Regions from separate parts of the Homo sapiens genome. Here region 1 is linked to region 2. The links are contacts of gene promoters, found by promoter capture Hi-C in blood cells and fetal thymus (Javierre and others, 2016). All regions are on one chromosome and are shown on one strand. The core of a region is centred on a gene start or on the middle of the fragment in contact, and the rest is flanking DNA. Distances in the headings are between cores, read along the strand shown. Region 1 overlaps POLR3B (RNA polymerase III subunit B). Region 2 holds the start of TMEM263-DT (TMEM263 divergent transcript).

Region 1 (6,026 bases), core at 3,527-6,026, 510 kb before region 2:
CATATATCCATATAGATAGATAACCATATATATATATGTATATAAAACCATATATATGTTTTTTTTTTTTTGAGACAAGGTCTTGCTCTGTCACCCTGAAGGAGTACAGTGGCACAACATAGCTCAGTGAAACTTAAAACTCCTGATCTCAAGTGATCCTCCCACTTCAGTCTCCTGAGTAGTTGGGATTACAGGCATGAGCCACCATGCCCAGCCTTAATGTGTATTTTTTAAAAGGAGTTGCTTCTCTGATTTTAATACTTGATTACTGCCAAAGTTGAACTAATGAATCAAGCTGTATAAAAATATACTTACCTCTGTTAGAGATGATTTTTGTCCATGGACATCTGAATTCTTGTCAGTGCAGGAATTCTCTACATAGTCTGTTCAAAAACTCTAAGTTTATGTGCAGTATGCACTTGAATTGGTAGTATGTTCACAATATTTCTTCTTGAACAATGATATTTTTAGAAGCATCTGTGTTCCATTTTAGAGTACATTAAAGAACATCTATGTAACTTGCTGTCTGATGCATGTGACTGATGTACCACTTACCTGAAATTGGAATTCTTGCAGATATATTGCTAGAGAGTTTAATACTACCACCTAATAACTATTTATGTCTTCAATCAAGAATAAGTACTTTTCTGACCCAGTGTAATGGCTCACCCCTATAATCCCAGTGCTTTGGGAGACTGAGGCAGGAGAATCGCCTGAGGCCAAGAGTTTGAGACCAGCCTGGACAACATAGCAAGACCCTATGTCTAAAAATAAAAATAAAAAATTAGCTGGACACAGTGGCACACACCTGTAGTCCTAGCTACTTGGGAGGCTGAGGTGGAAGGATCATTTGAGCCCAGGAGTTATGGGTTACACTGAGCTATGATTGTGCCACTGCACTCCAGCCTGGGTAAGAACCTATCTCTTAAAACAGGAAAAAGAAAAACTTTTCTGTTTTCTGCTACCAAATGAAATATATTACTTTTTAGAAGATTATAATTTACCAGCCTGGGTAACATGGCAAGACCCCGTCTCTACAAAAAACTTAAAAATTAGCCAGGTGTGGTGATGTACGCCTGTAGTCCCAGTAACTCAGGGGGCTGAGGCTAGAGGATTGCATGAGTCCAGGAGGTGGAGGCTCTGTGAGCCATGTTCATGCCACTGCACTCCAGCCTGGGTGACAAAGCAAACCCTGTTGCCAATATATATATTGCAAATATATATATTTTTTGCACTTTGTAAATAGTGGTTTTTGGTCAGAATTTTTCTTCCTTAAAGATGTGAATCTCTCAAAGTGCTATTTTATACCCCTCATTTCAAAATTGACTGAGGGCCAGGTGTGGTGGGTCACACCTATAATCCCAGCAATTTGGGAGGCTAAGGCATGAGGGTTGCTGGAGCTCAGGAGTTTGAGATCAACCTGGGCAACACAGTGAGACCTCATCTCTACTAAAAATAAAAAAAAGTTAGCCAAGTGTTGTGGTGTGCACCTATGATCCCAGCTACTTGGGAGGCTGAGGTGGAAGGATCACTTGAGCACAGTTTGAGGCTGCAGTGAGCTATACTTGGAACACCACTGCATTCCAGCTTGGGCGAGAGAGTGAGACCCTTACTCAAAAAAAATATAGATATAGATATGTATCCTGAGTATAAAAGAAAACTATTTTATAGTAGCCCCATAAATGACAGTTCCATCGTTGTATTACTCAAGCCAACAAAACTGTCTATTTCCGTCCTGACCCTTTTTCTCTATATTGACATCAATCCCTAGCTCATCACATGAGCCTTCCAAATACATCTGGAATCTGAACTCTTTTTCACTACCTCAATCCATCACCTAGTCCAGGCCATTTGTATGTCTTACCTGGATTTTTGCAAAGGCCTCCTGACTATTTTGACACCTGTTCCCATATAGTCTTTTCCTAATAGAGCAGAGGGGGCATGTCCGTTCTCTTCTCAAATCCCTCAGGGGCTGTCGGTCTCCCTCAGAAGTCCTTACAGAAGCCTTCCAGTTCCTGCACAATCTGCCCACTTCCATTTCTACCTCTCCCCACTCCCTGTTTCAACCACACTGGCCTCTTCTCCAAACACTCCAGGCGTGCCTCTGCCTTAGCACCTTTGCACTGGCTGCTTCCTCTGCCTGGAGCACTCTCTCACATACCTGCATGGCTCACTGCTTCACCCCCTCCAGGTCTTCACTTAGGTGTCACCTTCTCGTGAGATTTTTCTGACCACTCTAGTGAAAGTAGAAACTCTTATCTCTATCCACTCCTCTTTACTACTTTTTTTTTTTTTTTACTTCTTGTGCCTATTACCATAGAGTAAAATTGGTATTTTACTGATGTATCTATGTATTGTCTATCTTCCCTCACTTAGAAGCTTCACGAAGGCAGGGATTTTCATCTGGTTTTTCATTGATGTAAATGAATATAACTCTCAGCGTTACCCAATTACCAAGCTATTCCATACATCAAATTAATTTCATTTAAAAAATCTAGAAGTTTTTGTATTATTTAATTCATACTTATGTTTTTTAAAATATAGAAATGCATGAAGTACAAAGAATGAATCCCCTTCCTTTCCCATCCCACCAGACTCCACCCTCCAGAAGTTGCCGATGCTAATAATTTCTTATGTACTATTCTAGATTTTTTTTCTGAGTACAAACATACACACATGATTCCACACAATGTGTGTGTATAAAACAGTGATAACATTTCCAGTGCCTTGATTTTGAAACTTAACCAGTATACTCTGGACATTTTCCATATTAGTATATATATTTATATACATGTATATTTGTATACACAGTCTTATGTCACTTAATGATGGGGATGCGTTCTGAGAAGTTTGTTGTCAGGTGATTTCATTATGTGAATATCGTAGTGTACTTAAACAAACCTAGATGGTGTCTGTCACCCACTGTCACCTACTACACACATAGACTGTATGCTAAAGCCTATTGCTTCTAGACTACAAACCTGTACAGCATATTACTCTACTGAACATTGTAGGCAGTTGTAGCACAATGGTAAGTATTTGTGTATCAAAACATATCTAAACAAAGAAAAGGTATAGTAAAAATGCAGTATTATAATCGTTTGGAACCACCACCATTTATGCAGTCTGTTGTTGACCAAAATGTTATGTGGTGTGTGACTGTATACATATATATATTTTTTTAATTGCCATTTGTTATTACATTATCTACCTACACACATTTAGTTTATTAACTAGTTTCCTACTGTTGAATATTTAGGTAGTTTCCAATTTTTCTACTGTTATAAACAACAGGTTATTTAGTTTTCATTCGAACTAAATTTAAGTGCTTTATACACAGTGAATAAGAAATCTCGGCTGAGTGCAGTGGCTCACGCCTGTAATCCCAATACTTTGGGAGGCCAAGGCAGGCAGATCACCTGAGGTTGGGAGTTTGAGACCAACCTGACCAACATGGAGAAACCCTATCTCTACTAAAAATACAAAATTAGCTGGGTGTGGTGGCGCATGTCTGTAATCCCAGCTACTCCGGAGGCTAAGGTGGGAGAATCACTTGAACCCGGGAGGCGGAGGTTGCAGTGAGCCAAGATCGCACCATTGCACTCCAGCCTGGGCAGCAAGAGCGAAAATCCGCCTCAAAAAAAAAAAAGAAAGAAAGAAAGAAAGAAATCTCCCAATTCCTGTTCAGTTTCTAAACTGATGATTTTAAAGAGAATAATTTTTTTTTTTTGTAAAGTCAGAATCTAGAGTGTTTGGACTTCCAGTAATTATTAGATACTATGTGAGTTTATGTATGTTGTCACCATAAGAGAAAAAAACTTCAGATATTTCTTTTCATTTTTCAACTCAATCCAATGTTAACATCTGAAAAAGTAGTTTTTACTTAGATGGAAAATGTCAACTTGGCCAATATTTAAACAAAGCAGTATATTTAAAAGAAAATCTGTTTTCTTCTAGACTATAAAATGTAGCTATAAGCTGATGTTCTTTAAAGAAAAAAGCAAAACAAAACCTAGAGTATTTTCCCTTCCTGCTTAACAAAGGAAGTCTTTTCCCTTCCTGCTTGTCTGAGAGGATTGGGGTTCTGCTAGGTCATAAGGTGAAAACAGTACTCTTCAAACCAAGAACCACATGGAAGGCACTTTCTCTCACCAAACTAGGGACATAATTTAATACATGTGTTTTGGAAAAAAAAATAGGTTAATAACTGGATAAGTGGGAGATCTTTTACCAGGTACATTCCATTGATGGGCTGGGACGTGGTTTCTTGGACATCACTTCAGTCCACAGGTGCTGTAAACCACTGAAATTCTTAAGGTTACACTTCACAAACACTTGAGGGAAAAATAGCGGGTCCACAGAGATCACAGATCCTGGATGACACATCTGGTACTTTCCACAAATACCTATAATTAATCTGGGTACTCTTTCCTATTAACACATCTGAGTAGCTTCATCATTTGGCCAAAAAACTGAATTTTCTGCAGAAATATATTATGAAAGTAACCAAGATTCTGACATCTACTAGGTAAAATCTTACTTTGTGTCCAGTACTACCCATAGCAGAGCTGTCCAGTAAAATAAAATGCAAGCCACCTATATAACCTCAAACTTTCTAATAGCCACATTAAAAAGGTAAAAAGAAACTGGTAAAATTATTTTGAATAATAGTTTTATTTGTCAACATATCCAAAATATTATATCAACAGGTAATTAATATAAAACTAATGAGCTATTTTACACTTTTTTTCCTACTATAAGTCCTCAAAATCTGGTGTGTGCTTACAGCACATTTCAACTTGGATGCCAATTTTTTATCAGAAATACTAGATCTCATTTCATAACATTTACACTTTTAAAAGATTCATAAATGTGAGTTGTTCCAAGATAAAAGATTTTATATAACTGAACTGAGTTACTTAAATTTCAATTTGAGTTTTAAAATTTAAAGTAATTAAGTAAAATTTAAAAATTCAGTTTCTCAGTCACACTAGCCCGGCATTTCAAGTGCTCAGTAGCCACAGTTATCTAGTGTCTAGTGGCTATGGTATTGGTCTCTGTTGGTCTATAGTAACTATTCTTTTTTTTTTTTAAGACAGAGTCTTGCTCTGTTGCCCGGGCTGGAGTGCAGTGGCAAGATCTCAGCTCACTGCAACCTCCGTCTCCTGGGTTCAAGCAATTCTCCTGCCTCAGCCTCCAGAGTAGCTGGGATTATAGGTGCCCGCCACCATGCCTGGCTAATTTTTTGTATTTTTTAAGTAGAGACAGTGTTTCACTGTGTTGGCTAGGCTGGTCTCGACCTACTGACCTCAAGTGATCCACCTGCCTCGGCCTCCCAAACTGCTGGGATTATAGGCGTGAGCCACTGCATCCGGCCTATAGTACCTATTCTTTTTTTTTGAGACGGAGTCTCGCTCTCTCGCCAGGCTGGAGTGCAGTGGCATGATCTCAGCTCACTGCAACCTCCGCCTCCCGGGTTCAAGCAATTCTCCTGCCTCAGCCTCCCAAGTAGCTGCGACTACAGGTGGGTGCCACCACACCCATCTAATTTGTATTTTTAATAGAGACAGGGTTTCACCATGTTGGCCAGGATGGTCTCGATCTCTTGACCTCATGATCCACCTGCCTCGGCCTCTCAAACTGCTGGGGTTACAGGCATGAGCCACTGTACTTGGCTAGTAACTGTATTTAAAGGACGTATATTCCACTCTTAAATGGTGATACAACCTACTCATTGATATATGTTAGAAGAATGAGGAAAAGCAGGCTAGTCATCCATGTGAATATTGTTGATGTATTTCTATGTGTTGAATATAGTAATTTATGTGTTAATTACAATTTCTTATGTTTTACTGTATTTTATTTAAGTATGTTTTTATTTTACCAGTTTTACTAGCATCAAATTTTATTGACATATAAATCCCTGGAGGACCTAGATAACAATATTTTTGTACCCTTTAAAAGACATTTATTTTTGTACTTGATGCTTAAGATATGTGATTTTTACTTAACTTGTTAGAGACACC
Region 2 (6,145 bases), core at 3,604-6,103:
ATCTCAAATCCATTATTCTAAGTGAAAGATGCAAGACTAAAAATGCTTCATACTGTATTCCATTTATATGACATTCTGGAAAAGGCAAAACCATAAGGAGAGAAAACAGATGAGAGGTTGCCTCGGGGTGGGAGGGGTTGCGCATCTTTTCATATGCTTATTTGCCATCCATGTATCTCCTTTGGTAAAGTGATTGTTCAATTATTCACACATTTTAAAACTGGATTGTCTTCTGAGTTGTAAGATTGTTTCACATATTCAGAATACAGTCACTTAATAGGTATGTTTTGGCTGGGAGCGGTGGCTCACGCTTGTAATCCCAGCACTTTAGGAGGCTGAGGCAGGCGGATCATGAGGTCGGGAGATGGAGACCATCCTGGCTAACATAGTGAAACCCCGTCTCTACTAAAAAACAAACAAACAAACAAACAAACGAAAATTAGCTGGGCATGGTGGCAGGCGCCTGCAGTCCCAGCTATTCGGGAGGCTAAGGTAGGAGAATGGCGTGAATCCAGGAGGCAGAGCTTGCAGTGAGCCGAGATTGTGCACTGCACTTCAGCCTGGGTGACAGTGCGAGACTCCGTCTCAAAGAAAAAAAAAAAAAAGGTATGTTTTGCAAATATTTTCTCCCAGTCTGTTGCTTGTTCTTTTGTTTTCTTAAGTGACATCCAAAGAGCAAGTGTTATCCAAACAGCAAGTTTTTATAAATTTCTTTCTTTCATGGATTGTGTTTTTTGTTGTACCTAAGAAAACTCTGCCTAATTCAAGATCATAAAAATGTTCTCCTATGTTTTCTTCTAAAAGTTTTATATTTTCACATTTAGGTCTATGATCCATTTTGAATTATTTTGCATATGGTGAAAGGCATGAGTTTATAGGTGTTAAGCTTTTGTTTTAAAAATGATGTCCAATTATTCCAACATGTGCTTCTTTTCACTATCTTTTAATAAGGCTCAATTTAGCAGACACTCTATATATGATCCACAAAAAGAAAGGGAACCTTCTAGCTTTGGTGTGACAATCCTATGGCTGGAGATGAAAGGGCAGTTTCCAGTCCTTTGACTGGCAGAAATACCTAATAAGTATGCTTTCTACTCCATAGAAATGCATGATATAGAATAGTCCAGAAAGAACTGTCAATGCTTTCTAGTCAAAGATCACCAGGAACACACCTGTGGTTGAACAAGCCGAATTTACTACTCATTGCAGCAAGGAAGAACACATCACGGGGAACCACGTGGCATACTGGTAAGGTGTTCAAAAAAATCTTTTAGTAAGATTGGGTTTGTGTTAGGTGATCTGATAGAGGGTTTAAGGTGGTGGAACTTTGCTCTATGCTCTAAACAGGATATTGTCAGGAAGTGGGGGTAATTCTATGATTGGGTATCTTAATAAATCTTATCTAGAAAGAGGGAAGACTGGAATGAGGCTTAAGCTGTCATTGGCAAAGAGGCAACAGCTACGTAGACTAGTTTGGTATTTTCATTTTGTGTATTTCATTTGGTGGGTTGGACAGCATTTGTGTTTTTGTCTACATTCACACACGATTATGAAGTAGTCTTATTTTTGTCCTGATCCACCATGATCATGGAGTGGCCTCGTCTGATGTTGATGTTCTCTAAAATTATTTTTGTTCAACAAGAATACCAAAGCCTAGTGTGCCAGCATCTACTGCATGTCAGAAACTGCTTTTCTCTTTCTCGGAATATAGTGATTAAGAACTTGGGCTCTAGAGTCAGACAAAATTGGGTTTGATTCTAAAGCCTGCTCTTCACTAGCCTGTGGGACCCAGGGTAAATTATCCAACTTCTCTATGCCTCGGTTTCCTCATATGAATATAGGATTTCCTATATTAGAATATAATGTGCTTGCTTCATTGGATTGAGAGAAATCAGATGATCGAGGTTAGGAGCTGTGTCAAATAAATCTGCCGTATCATAGGAAAAATTAAGGATATTGGTGCAGGCAAAGGAAAACCAATAGCACAGGTGATTGTGCCAGGAATGGCAAAGAGCAGTGAAGAAAGTGAGGATAGAAAGCATAATGATTTACACTGGGGGGTAACTAACTTTTATAAAGCTGTTAATTTAATGCAAGGATAATGCATTACACTCATGAAAACATGGTGAAACAGGAAAAACGTGCGCACCTTGCAACAAGTAGGCTTCTTACTTAAATGAGTCCATACTGAAACCCTGGGAAGAGTGTTTGATAATGATGAAAACTATGATTGTGCACATAACAGGAGACAGACTCACATGTTGGGTAGAAGGTTGGGCTGGAGCTTTTTAAACTTCAGCGTACTATCAGCCTAGAAATAATTTCTTGCTTTAACATTACTGGTTTCTGCCTTCTTTCTGGTCCTCTTTGAACCACCCCACCATGTTAAGCAATGCCACATCTAATTTCTAAGTTTTTCAATAAGGCAAAAAGACTGTGTGTGTACCCAACTAGAAGAAAACTCAGTCACTTAAGAGGCTGGGTAATTGATATGTGTATTAAGAATTTTGTTAAAAGAATTTTATTGCCTGAAGGCACTAAGAATTCATCATTATTGTTATTTTAAGAGAGAGGGTCTCACTTTGTCACCCAGGCTGGAGAGCAGAGGCACAATCATAGCTCACTGCAGCCTTGAAATCCTGGCTCAAGTGACCTTCCTGCCTCAACTTCCCAAGTAGCTAGGACTACAGGTGCGTGCCACCACACCTGGCTATTTATTTATTTATTTTTTGTAGAAACAGGGTCTCACTATATTGACCCGGCTAGTCTCAAACTCCTGGCTTTAAGCAATCCTCCCACCTTGGCCTCCCAAAATGCTGTGATTACGTGGCCAGGGCTCATTAAGACATGACAAAATCTTTCAAAATAACATCCAGAAATAAATGTTTCATTTTATTTTTCTTGAAACAGGGTCTCACTCTGTTGTCCAGGCTGGAATGCAGTGGTGTGACCACGGCTCAGTGCAGCTTTGACCTCCCAGGCTCTAGCAATCCTCCTGCTTCAGTATCCCAAATAGCTGGGACTACAGGAGGGTGCCACCATGCTCAATTATTATTATTATTTTTTTAAGAGATGGGATCTCCCCATGTTGCCCTTGCTGGTCTTAAACTCCTAGGCTCAAGTGATCTTCCCGACTCAGCCTCCCGAGGTGCTGGGATTAAAGGCGTGAGTCATCTGTATTTTATTTTAACAATCTAAGAAAGGGAGGTCACAGAATGGGAATCAAGAACTTAGAGGAGTTCAGACTATAAAACGAAGAAATACTACAAGTCATGTATTTGTTTGTTTTATAGGCTGAACTCCTACACCAGAAGTTTCTGATGAACTCATGACCTCCCAAAGGAGCTCTTTTAAATCTTAGTTAGTTTATGAAACAGATTCAACTGCTGCTTTGAGTTATGGCTTTTAATAACCGTAAAAATGCAAAATCTCCCAGGAGTGGCTACAATCTTGTCAGTCATTTGTACTTTAATAATAATTAGATTCTCTTGTAAAACGACGTGCAAAGGGAAGAAGAAACAAGACGTAATTGTGCACTTCATAATTTTACCTAGAGTTCAACCTTGAAAGGTCACATATTAAGGATAGAAGTTTGTGTAATAACGAGAAAACAGAGGATATCCGTTTCTTCACATACTGGATAAACAACAATCCACGGATCCTGCTAATCATCCAACCCATATGTTGAATTGACAAGAGTATTTAATTTCCTCTTTCTGCTTTGAGAAACTAAATATCTTGACAGTCTGAGCACAGTGGCTTAAGTGGCCTTAATTCTCTGATTTCATAAGTTAATGATTAGGTTGAAGCTATAAACTATAGTCCATTCCATTTAAGACCTGGATCAAAGTTAGCTTCATCCAGCATGTTTTAGCACGTCCTTTCTGAGCTATGTTGTCAGTAGTTACCATTCAGTTCCACCATCCTGAATATTCTGCAGTTGATAAACCATTTTGTGAATTTTTTTTTTTTGCTTTCTGTGTATGTTTTTGACTCGCGTGTTTTTGCTTCGCTAATCAGATTGCGAAAGGAAACATCTCACGTTTGCATAGGACTTCACAGTTCATAAAGACCTTTCCCACCCACCACAAAAAAAGTATGACAAGTTTCCCGTCATCTTCATTTTATAGGTGTGGAAAGGGAGTCAAAGAAAAGTTAATCGATACCATTTATCTAGTTAAGCAGGCTTTGAGCAGTTCATCTCCTCCCGTCCTCAAAACGACCTTCTGAGGTGTCTCCTGCAACCCTGCTCTGAAGCTCAGAGCGAGACGGCCTCACATCCCAGGGGGCTCAGCTCTGGCGGGGCCGCCACGCGCCTCCCCGTGCCTTTGGACGGGTGAGGAGAGCTGCTGCCCCGGCGGGGACCACGTGGAGGGGCCTGGTCAGCAAGTGGCAAGGACGCGGCGCAAAGCCAGGCTTTCTAATGTACAATCCGCGGCTCTTTCGATACTGAACACCCACCTCTTCAACAAATTCGAGCGCCTGGCAGGCCCTGCACCAAGCCTAGGGTGATGGCGACCCAGGCGGGTTTTTACTCTCAAGGAGCTCAATTCTAGGGCAGGGAGAAGTAAAATTAAAAAAAAAAAAATCATAACAAACTGAAAAACACATAAATAAGCCACGTCTCTCCTCACCCCTAGCACTTAATCACAAAGGCCTGTAGAGAGTCCCGACGAGAACTTCTGAGCAGGCCCCGCTGTCAGTCCCTGAGGACAGCATGCAAGGGAGGTTGACGTCCCTGGACGAAGAAAGTGCTGGAGAAACTGGCGACCGTCCCACCTTCCCTAAGGCGAAGGCTCTGAATTCCGAAGACCGTTACTCGGCGCGGAACGCGGGCACCGCCGACGTCAAAACACCGGGCCTGGGGGCCGCGGCCTACGCGTCTCCCGGGCTTCGCGCCCCTCGCCCGATTTGATTGGATGGTGGCGGGAAGAAGGCGGGGAGACCCCCGGAGGAGGGGCGCGCAGGCCGGCCGGGGGTTCCCACGGAGGCGTCCAGGGGGCGAAGGGGCGGGAGCGGGCCTCGGAGCGTCGCGCGTGCGCAATTGGGACACAGCCGGCTGGGGACTGCTGGGAGGGCCGGACCCTGCGAGAACGGGTGGGCGTGTGCCCGGTGGGCGCGGGAGGGGCCCGGGCTGCACGAGCGCGCGTGCGCGTCGGAACTGGAGCCGCGGGAGGAGGCGGGAGCTGAGGAGGCGGCGGAGGGGGCGGGTCGCGTCGGGCGCCACGTCCGCAGCCAGAGGCCTCCGCCTCCACCACCGCCGCCACAGTCTTCCAGCTCCACATCCTGAGAGGACGCCTCTGGAGCCGCGACTGCCCGGGGTTGTGCCGGCCGCCGCTGCCGCCCAGGCCGCCTCAGCTCTCCTCTGCGCCGGCCCGCTCACTCCGCCCGGCCCCAGCCCTAGCGCTGGCCGCGACCCCGGCGGTGAGTGAGTCGGGATGCGAGGGCAGGGGCGCAGTCCCGGCTTCCTGCCCTCCTCCGTCGCCCTCTGCCGTCGGCGCCCCTGCCCCTCACCTCCCAGTGCCCGGCCTGGCTGCCCAGCGGGGCCTTGGCGAGGCCCCAGCGGGAAAGGGGGAGGGGCGGGACGAAGTTGGGGGCGGATGGAGGTTCGCTTCTGGGGCTACTCCTCCTTATACGTCGCTGACTGCCCCGCCGCGATTGGAGCTTGCGCACCCCTGGAAAGCCTCCGCCTGACTTCTTAGCATCTGGGGGTTCGGGGTTGGGGGCGGAGGAGGAAGGTGAGGGGCATCAGCAGCCTGGGAGAGGGATGCAGCGGAGGGGCTTGGGTACCGGGCTTCCTCGCCCTGCCAACTCCTGACCTGTTGCTAAACCTCCCTTTTGGGTTCAGGCACACAAGACTTTTTCCCAGTGGACACCCCCATAGCTCTTCCTGGGTAGGAAGGCTGTATCTCCACGCCTAACCTAAAGTAAAAGTGGGAATGGAGAGGGTGCTGGCCGCGCCCAGGGGTGACAGGGAGGGCTGGAGCACCCATCCGTGCCGTCACTGCCTCCCAGTCTAAATAAAAACTGCCTGCTCTGCACACGCAGCTTCAAGACCGACCCCCCAGCTCCCACTTCCAATCAGATCGCCTGTCCTAAACCCTTCTTACATAGAAATTCTGGAGCCCTTCGGGAGTGGGGGGAG

What was found. The method cuts DNA at HindIII sites, captures the fragments that hold promoters and counts their contacts. A CHiCAGO score of 5 or more calls a contact.
Region 1: a fragment that was not itself captured here is called in contact with the fragment with the promoter of TMEM263-DT in region 2 in 2 of 17 cell types (naive CD4 T cells and M2 macrophages); the score reaches 6.5 in naive CD4 T cells.

Annotation. Positions count from the first base shown.
Region 1 is chr12:106,438,444-106,444,469 of GRCh38, forward strand. POLR3B (RNA polymerase III subunit B) reads left to right here. Exons shown (of 28, transcript NM_018082.6): 19 at 6,020-6,026. Among named protein-coding and RNA genes, the nearest start is that of POLR3B, 84 kb to the left of the region's middle. The HindIII fragment of the contact is 4,799 bases long and covers 2,378-6,026 here.
Region 2 is chr12:106,950,642-106,956,786 of GRCh38, forward strand. TMEM263-DT (TMEM263 divergent transcript) reads right to left here and starts at 4,854. Exons shown (of 1, transcript NR_185933.1): 1 at 2,872-4,854. It overlaps TMEM263 (transmembrane protein 263), which reads left to right and starts at 5,266. Exons shown (of 4, transcript NM_152261.4): 1 at 5,266-5,424. RefSeq lists a silencer at 4,894-5,653 and an enhancer at 4,930-5,224. The HindIII fragment of the contact is 6,686 bases long and covers 885-6,145 here.